3 separate regions of the Homo sapiens genome follow, and all the other regions are linked to region 2. The links are contacts of gene promoters, found by promoter capture Hi-C in blood cells and fetal thymus (Javierre and others, 2016). All regions are on one chromosome and are shown on one strand. The core of a region is centred on a gene start or on the middle of the fragment in contact, and the rest is flanking DNA. Distances in the headings are between cores, read along the strand shown. Region 1 overlaps NTAQ1 (N-terminal glutamine amidase 1). Region 2 holds the start of ANXA13 (annexin A13). Region 3 has its middle 50 kb from the start of NTAQ1.

Region 1 (2,700 bases), core at 87-2,586, 300 kb after region 2:
AAATGCTGATGTGTATGTGATCAATCAGAACCCCCATCTGAGAAGGCATCTTGGCTCACCTCCAGTCTCAATGCAGGGATATGGCGGCGGAGGCTCTCTCCAATTCCCACTGGAGTCTTTCATGTGAGATCGGTCAGAAGCAAAGTTCTTCAAATATGAATCTGCACGGATCACTCTAAATTTCCTGCAGAAAAATCAATATACACTCACATTAGGGAGATGTCATGTTTGAAATTCTAACTCCATTTTTATATCGACTCATTTCCTATGACATGCACAAAACTACTCATGCATTTCTGTATGGTTAGTAATACAGGCAACTTTACTACCTATTAGAGAAGCATAGGAAATGATCAACCAAACCCCGAAACAGAAAGGCAAAGGCACAAAAATATATCTGGTTGCCTCGATTTACTCGATTTGTGTATCAAGGGCAATGGGCATGATTTTCTGATGCTGCCCTCACAGCCCTCTCAATGGTGACAGCACGAGGTATCCCCACAAAAACAAAAAGAATATAAGAAAAATCCCCAACCCGCTTGAAATTAAATGTCTGAGATCTCATCACACAAAATTTTAAAAGAATGACAACCTTTCATATGATAGATAACTTTTAAAGCTTTAAAACATTTTGAATCTCCTGTGTTGCAAATACATCATTCTTAAACATCAACTCAATGGTGATGTCAGACGAGATCTTTACAAAACAATTGTCAAAAAAAAAAAGAACCTCTGTGGAATCGTCAAATTCTTACTTCAGAAAATAAGTAAATCCATCTTGAATGTCCTCACCTCCTAAACTGTGGGTGAATGTCATCATCAGACTTAAAGGCATCTTCTACATAAGTGTCAAAGAGGCAGGGAAATGGCAAGACAGTATCGAGATCATAAATGAAGTTCTGTCCTCCACTTGAAACATGAAGCAAAACAACATGGTAATCCTAAAAGTAAAAGTTGCTGAAGTTAACCAAGTTACTTCATAATGATGAAATCCCAGTATTCAGACACATACCTTATCACTAAAAAGGATATAGGACTGCTACAGCCCTCCTTATAATAGCAAAATAGAATAAAGCAAACACAACACCCTGAAAACATGAAAACAGACTAAATGTCCACAGATAGGGAAATGGTTAAATAATGGAAATGTTCATAGTCATTAAATGCACATCCTCTGAAACTGCAATTTTACCTCTAGGAAACTTTTTTTTTTTTTTTTTTTTTGAGATGGAGTCTTACTCTCGTCACCCAGGTTGGAGTGCAGTGGCATGATCTCAGCTCACTGCAACCTCCACCTGCCGGGTTCAAGCAATTCTCTTGCCTCAGCCTCCCGAGTAGCTGGGATTACAAGCGCGCACCACGATGCCCAGCTAATTTTTTGTATTTTTAGTAGAGATAGGGTTTCATCATGCTGGCAAGGCTGGTCTTGAACCCCTGACCTCAGGCGATCCACCCGCCTCAGTCTCCAAAAGTGCTAGGATTACAGGTGTGAGCCACGGTGCCTGGCCCCACATATTTTTTTTAATTGAGACAGAGTCTTGCTCTATCACCCAGGCTGGCGTGCAGTGGCATAATCTCAGCTCACTGCAACCTCCGCCTCCTGGGTTCAAGCGATTCTCCTGCCTCAGCCTCCTGAGTAGCTGGGACTACAGACACCCGCCACCACGCCCAGCTAATTTTTGTATTTTTAGTAGAGATGGTGTTTCACCATGTTGGCCAGGCTGGTCTCCAACTTCTGGCCTCAAGTGATCCCCCCGCCTCAGCCTCCCAAAGTCCTGGAATTACAGGTGTGAGCCACAGTGCCGGCCCCACCTGCTATTTGTTAAAAGCTATCTGTATATAAAGACATACGTGCGCATTCAGAAGTACATTTGCATGCATGTGAATGCAGAGGAAAACGTCTGCAAGGATCTGCTCCAAACTAGTAACAAAGGAGGCTTCTGGGGGTCAGCCTGGAGAGGAGAAGGAGGACTTTAATTTCTAGTTTGGAACCACTTTTGCAATTAAAAGAAAGGAAAAACTATTTTTTAAAAAAAGAAGTTAGCCAAGCTTTCATCTGTAGCCACTAAGGGAGAAAGAAAAAGACAGCTTTTCCCACACAGCTCTGTCACAGTGTGGATGTTAATTCTCACCCTCACTCTCAGACTCAAGGTACTGCCCAACACCAGCGATGAGCTGAAAGGGATTTCAGGGAGGTGATCAAGGGACATGAGCAATGTGGTGCTCTGAGTTCTTCCAAAGAAAAACGCTCTCATAGAGAACAGCACTGTGAAATCAAAGCAACCTAGCAACATTAGTAATACCAACTTATATTTCTACAATATCTTAGAGTTTAAAAGGCACTTTCTTTCTCAAATATCATTCTACTTGAGCCCTGTATAAATCCTGAGGTAAGAACAATACTTAAGACTAGGGATGCTGTGCCTTTAAAAGCCTGAGTGCTGCCTTTGGCTCTAAGTCTGTCTTAGCAAAACAGAAAGATTCAAAAATGAATGCCTATTCTCTGGACTTCCCCAGATACATCCTATCCTCCACGCCCCCAAACAGTCCACCACTGCCTCCCAATGGGTCTGCTCATGTCATTCCCCTCCATCTGCAGCAACCTTCTCTACCTCTTTCTACCACACAAGCTCCAGCTAAAGGCTTTCTTCCCACGAATCAATTTTTTATCTTCTCCCACCCCCTGCCAGAATCTCCGCC
Region 2 (2,700 bases), core at 58-2,557:
TTATTCTACAGATAAGAAAGCACAACAAAGATGTGTATGAGATATTCATGCAAAAGATCAAAAACAATCTAAATGACCTTCAACGGTAGACTGATGAAATAAGGTTTGGTTCATATCCATAACAGTTGACTACATGGCCACTGAAAAAGAAATGTGCCAGTGTCAAATATCTCTTTAGTATATGAAATATACACTATATTAAGTGAAATAAGCAAGGCACAAAAAGACAAATATCACATGTTCTCCCTTATAACAAATATCACATGTTCTCCCTTAAATGTGGGAGCTAAAAAATTGATCACATGAAGGTAGAGAGTGGATAGATGGAGAAAAGAGACTGGAAAGGGTGAGTTGCGGGGGAAGAGGAGAAGTGGGTTAAAGGGTACAAACACACACTAAGATGGAAGGAATAAATTCAGTGTTGGATAGTAGAGTACGGTGGCTGTACTCAACAGAAATCTATTGTACTCAGGCAAACACTCTCAATACCCTGACTTGATCACTACTCATTATATGCATGTAACAAAATGTCTTATGTACCACATAAGTTTGTACAAATAAAAAAAGAAACATGTTGTAATAATCTCAGAAAAAAAAAGGAAAGACAAGAAATATGCAAGGCATGGAACAGAATACATTGTACAAACCCATTTGGTGAGGAAGAAAAGACAAGTTGGATCAAGATAAACAGAGAGGTAGGTAACTAGACAGGCAGACCGACGGACATAGCTGAATATGCATGGACCACTTCAGGAAGGACTCACGGAAAACCTCTGGGGGAAGGAAAAAGGAAGTCAGTAGGCCGACTTTTCACAGGACCTTTATGTATTATTAGAAACAAATTTACCATCTGCACATATTACTTTTTAAATTCAAAACTCAGTAAAATTTTTTAAATGATCTAGTGTAATGCAATGTAGCCTTCGAAAAATTCTCTGTAATAATAATAACAATGTTAGTAAAAAATAGTAATATTTTTCTATTTGGTTAATGCTTTCATTACTAAAAGGCATAATATTTTAAATGAACACCAGAATATGAAAGAATAACTCAACAATTCAGAAGTGAGGCAGGTTTAGTCTTTTAGGTGGGAAGAAGCTATTCAACTTTAAAAGCCTAAACTTTATTTATTAAGAAGTATATTATTTTAAAAACATGGGTACCAAGGAAACCTGGGCAGTCTAAGTTTATCTGTAGCTAGAGCCACTCCCTACCCATCCCCAACAATGTATTCAAATTCAGTGCCAAAAGTTACTTATTAAACACAAGAGATATTATGTCCGGGGGGAAAACTGTTGTAAACTTTGCCTGTAGGAGGACTGATCTCTTGATGAAATACAGAAAAACCATCTCAGAAAAAGGAAAATGGGCAATCGTCATGTAAGTACTCATTGCCTTTGGGAATTGGTTTTAATTTTGGTTAGCATGTGGAAGAATTTAAACTATAAAATCATGACTGATACTTGTATACTTTATCACTATGGTTACCCTTTAATATTGGTTTTAGCAACAGCATACCATGCTTTTAAAATGCATTGAGGCCGGGTGCGGTGGCTCACACCTGTACTCCCAGCACTTTGCAAGGCCAGAGTGGGCGGATTACTTGAGGTCAGGAGTTTGAGGTCAGCCTGGCCAACATGGTGAAACACTGTCTCTACTAAAAAAATTAAAAAAAAAAAAAAAGTTAGCTAGGTGTGGTGGAACATGCCTGTAGTCCCAGCTACTCAGGAGGCTGAGGCAGGAGAATCATTTGAACCTGGGAGGCGGAGGTTGCAATAAGCCGAGATTGCACCACTGCACTCCAGCCTGGACTACAAGAGTGAAACTCCGTCCCAAAAAAAAAAAAAAAAAAGCACTGGGGATATATTATTCCCTTATTGGCCAAAAATCTCTTAAGAGGGGCTAAAGAGAAAGAAGTATGTAAAATAAGGCAGTAAATAGTGCCTTGCAGAGAGCAAATGGTTAATATGTATCTGTAGAATGTATAACTAAAGCTGTTAGTTTGTAGCAAATTTGTATAAAACTTCATAAACTAAGCCCATTCAGAGTTATGTGGGAAAGATAGGTTCATGTTGCAAATATTAATAGACCAAGGTAAATACTCATGTAAGTCCACACAACTTGGATTGCAAGGTGAAAATATTCCATTATTATTTCTAAACATCCACATATTTGCAAATATCCATGGAATGGACTTAATAATTTACATTTCTTTTGAAATGTTTAGGCTCCTGAATAGTGTGTCTATAAATAGTTAATGACTAAAAACTGACTAAAACACTACCTTTTGGAACCAACTACACACAGGACAGATCAGAGTTGAATCTTGAATATTTTTTACATTGAAGTATATCTAAAGCTATTCCAATACAAATCTTAATAAGGTTTTGTGTACCTGCTGTAAATTTCCACAGCAAGAATGATATATTTCATGCACACTATGAGCAGAGAATAAAACTCCAAAACTTTCTGTAAACTGTTACTTTGTCTATAAGGTTTTTCCTTCGCTATATATTCAAGCTGCACTCAGATGTTTACAAACTTACAAATATATTCTTAGGAAAGGCATTGTTTTTCAAATCATCTACAAATAGCATTTTCATACCAGCAGAGATTATGAGCCATCCGTTCAGTGTATCTTTCAGAGAAACTGAAGCCTATTTTTCAAATATTTCTGATAGATGCAGAGGACCCCAGGAA
Region 3 (2,700 bases), core at 191-2,690, 270 kb after region 2:
AAATTAGCGGGGAGTGGTGGCTGGCGCCTGTGACCCTAGCTACTTGGGAGGCTGAGGCAGGAGAATCGCTTGAACCCGGGAGGCAGAGGTTGCAGTGAGCCGAGACCGTGCCATTGCACTTCAGCCTGGGCAACAAGAGCAAAACTCCATCTCTAAATAAACAAATAAAATAAAAATAGATACCTTGAACCTGTCTCTCATATTCACTGCTCCTCTGGCCCTTGCCTCTCCCTTTCTTCCTTGCTCACAATTCTACAGGATTTGGTCTGGTTCTAACTGCTCCAAGGAACCCTCTGGAACCTGGATATGAATGGCCAGTAATTAATTTATGAAATCAGACCCTCAGCTACATTCTATACTCAAGATACTAAAGCCAAGCTTAAAGACATTGATAAAACACTTAATGCAAGAATTATTTTATGAAAACACTTTAAAAATTATTTCAAACATCAAAATGGTACTTAAATCCCATTACATTAACAATCTCATAACACTATCTCATGCCATTGAATATGTGATAAAACCTTCATACAATATCTGGTGGGAATGTAAGTTGGCACAAACATTTAGAAAAGCAATTTGGCGGCCGGGCGCAGTGGCTCATTCCTGTAATCCCAGCAGTTTAGGAGGCCAAGGCAGGTCGATCACTTGAGGCCAGGAGTTCAACACTAGCTTCACCAACATGGCGGAACCCCATCTCACTAAAAATACAAAAATTAGCCGGGCATGGTGGTGCATGCCTGTAGTTCCAGCTGAGGGAGGCTGAGGATCACTTGAACCCAGGAGGCGGAGCTTGCAGTGAGCCGGGATCACGCAACTGCACTCCAGCCTGGACAACAGACTGAGAAAAAAAAAAAAGGAAAAAGAAAGAAAGAAAAGCAATTTGGAATATGTTTCAAGAACCACAAACATTTCCTGGTCCTTTGACCTATTAATACCATGCTCAGGAATTTGCTCTAAGGAAAATTATACTATTAAAAAAAGAACTTATATATAGAAGATGTTTATTTCCAAGTTATTTATGTAACTGATAGGGTAACATAATCAAAATGCCACTTTATTGTTTTTCTTCCATCATCCCTTTACTGTAAAATGGTATCGCCCATGGAAAACAGAATGGAGGTTCCTCAAAAAATTAAAACTAGAATTACCAGCAATTATATGACCAGCAATCCCATTCCTTGGTATATATCCAAAAGAACTGAAAACAAGATCTCAAAGAGATATTTGCACATCCATGTATACAGTTTGCCAGGGGGGAAAAGGGAGGAGGGGCAGCAGGAGAAAAGAATCTTGTCCTCACTCCAGATGAAAACAATTGCAGGCTCCTGCCTGCTGTGTCACTTTCAAGTAATGACAGTCTGATGGTCACATCAAGTCACAAACATGGTCTTACTAGAGTAATTCAGTGAGTCAGTTCATTCTATTCATCAACAATTCCATTTTCACTCAAAAGATTTCTTCCCCTTCTTTGCGAGAGCTGGCAGTTCCCAGGGAGGTGAGGGGAAAGTAGTCATTTTCTTCTGTCTTGCACCATGCGCCATAATCCTCCTCCACTCACTAGCTACTGGCTTGGATCCCATGCCCAAATGGACAGACGGCAAAGAGGTAAGTGGTTATGTCTGGAGCTACTTTAATTGGCTTCTGAGTGGCACAGTTGTAAGCTGACTTCCTGCTCACTGGGCTTTGCAGCTATATAAAGCTGCCTCTCACTTGGGGCACTTTTCTTGGGATCTTTGGTGATTCCCATCTCTGGGAACCTCTCCAGTTGTAATTCTCAGAACAAGGGAGAAGCATTCCATTCCAGCTGCTATTGCCCTCAGCCCCTGGTTCTCTGGCAATCCCGTCCACTCAGACTTCACTCTTTGGCTTCCTCTCACCCTCCCAGAGGGTCCTCTTGGACAGGATTTAAAATGACTTTCATGCAGAATGACAAACTGTGAATGGGTATACAACAGAATACAACTCTAAGTTATAGAGAAAGAATGAACTACTGACACAGGCAACAATATGGATGGAACTCAAAGATGTCATGCTGGCTGGGTGCAGTGGCTCACACCTGTAATCCCAACACTTTGGGAGGCCGAGGTGGGTGGATCGCTTGAGCCCTGGAGTTCCGAGACCAGCCTGGGCAACATGGTGAAACCCCATCTCTACTGAAAACACAAAAATTAGCCTGGCATGGTGGCGGGCGCCTGTAATCCCAGCTACTCAGGAAGCTGAGGCACAAGAATTGCTTGAACCCAGGAGGCAAAGTTTGCAGTGAGCCAAGATCGTGCCACTGCACTCCAGCCTGAGTGACAGAGCAAGACTCTGTCTCAAAAAAAAAAAAAAAAAAAAAAAAAGATGTTATGCTGAGTGAAAAAAGCAATCTCAAAAGGGTACGTACTATACAATTCCATTTACAGAACACTCTTAAAATGACAAAATTCTGGTGATAGAGAACAGATGAGTGGTCGCCAGGGGTTAGGGTTGGCAGGAGGGCCTGACTACAAAGCTTTAGTATGAGGGAGTTTCTCTGCAGTGACGGAAGCTGGTGACGGTGTCCTTGTTTTGGTAGTGATTACACATATCTATATGTGTGACAAGATTTCACAGTACTGTTTATACACATGCACACACAAGAGCATGTCAAAATTCATGAAAATCAAGGTCTATAGTTTAGTTCACAGTATTGTGTCAATGTCAATGTCAATTTCC

Evidence for each region. Contacts are between HindIII fragments. The CHiCAGO score rates a contact against its expected background, and 5 or more counts as called.
Region 1: a contact is called between a fragment that was not itself captured here and the fragment with the promoter of ANXA13 in region 2, in 1 of 17 cell types (M1 macrophages). The highest score is 5.9, in M1 macrophages.
Region 3: a fragment that was not itself captured here is called in contact with the fragment with the promoter of ANXA13 in region 2 in 2 of 17 cell types (M2 macrophages and M0 macrophages); the score reaches 6.6 in M2 macrophages.

Annotation. Positions count from the first base shown.
Region 1 is chr8:123,434,694-123,437,393 of GRCh38, reverse strand. NTAQ1 (N-terminal glutamine amidase 1) reads right to left here. Exons shown (of 6, transcript NM_018024.3): 4 at 793-941; 5 at 60-184. Among named protein-coding and RNA genes, the nearest start is that of NTAQ1, 19 kb to the right of the region's middle. The HindIII fragment of the contact is 1,430 bases long and covers 622-2,051 here.
Region 2 is chr8:123,736,000-123,738,699 of GRCh38, reverse strand. ANXA13 (annexin A13) reads left to right here and starts at 1,307. Exons shown (of 11, transcript NM_004306.4): 1 at 1,307-1,380. The coding sequence starts at 1,366. The region is part of intron 1 of LOC105375739 (a long non-coding RNA gene); the gene reads right to left. The HindIII fragment of the contact is 24,256 bases long and covers 1-2,700 here.
Region 3 is chr8:123,465,220-123,467,919 of GRCh38, reverse strand. It overlaps a transcript of NTAQ1 not described here. Among named protein-coding and RNA genes, the nearest start is that of NTAQ1, 50 kb to the right of the region's middle. The HindIII fragment of the contact is 2,119 bases long and covers 381-2,499 here.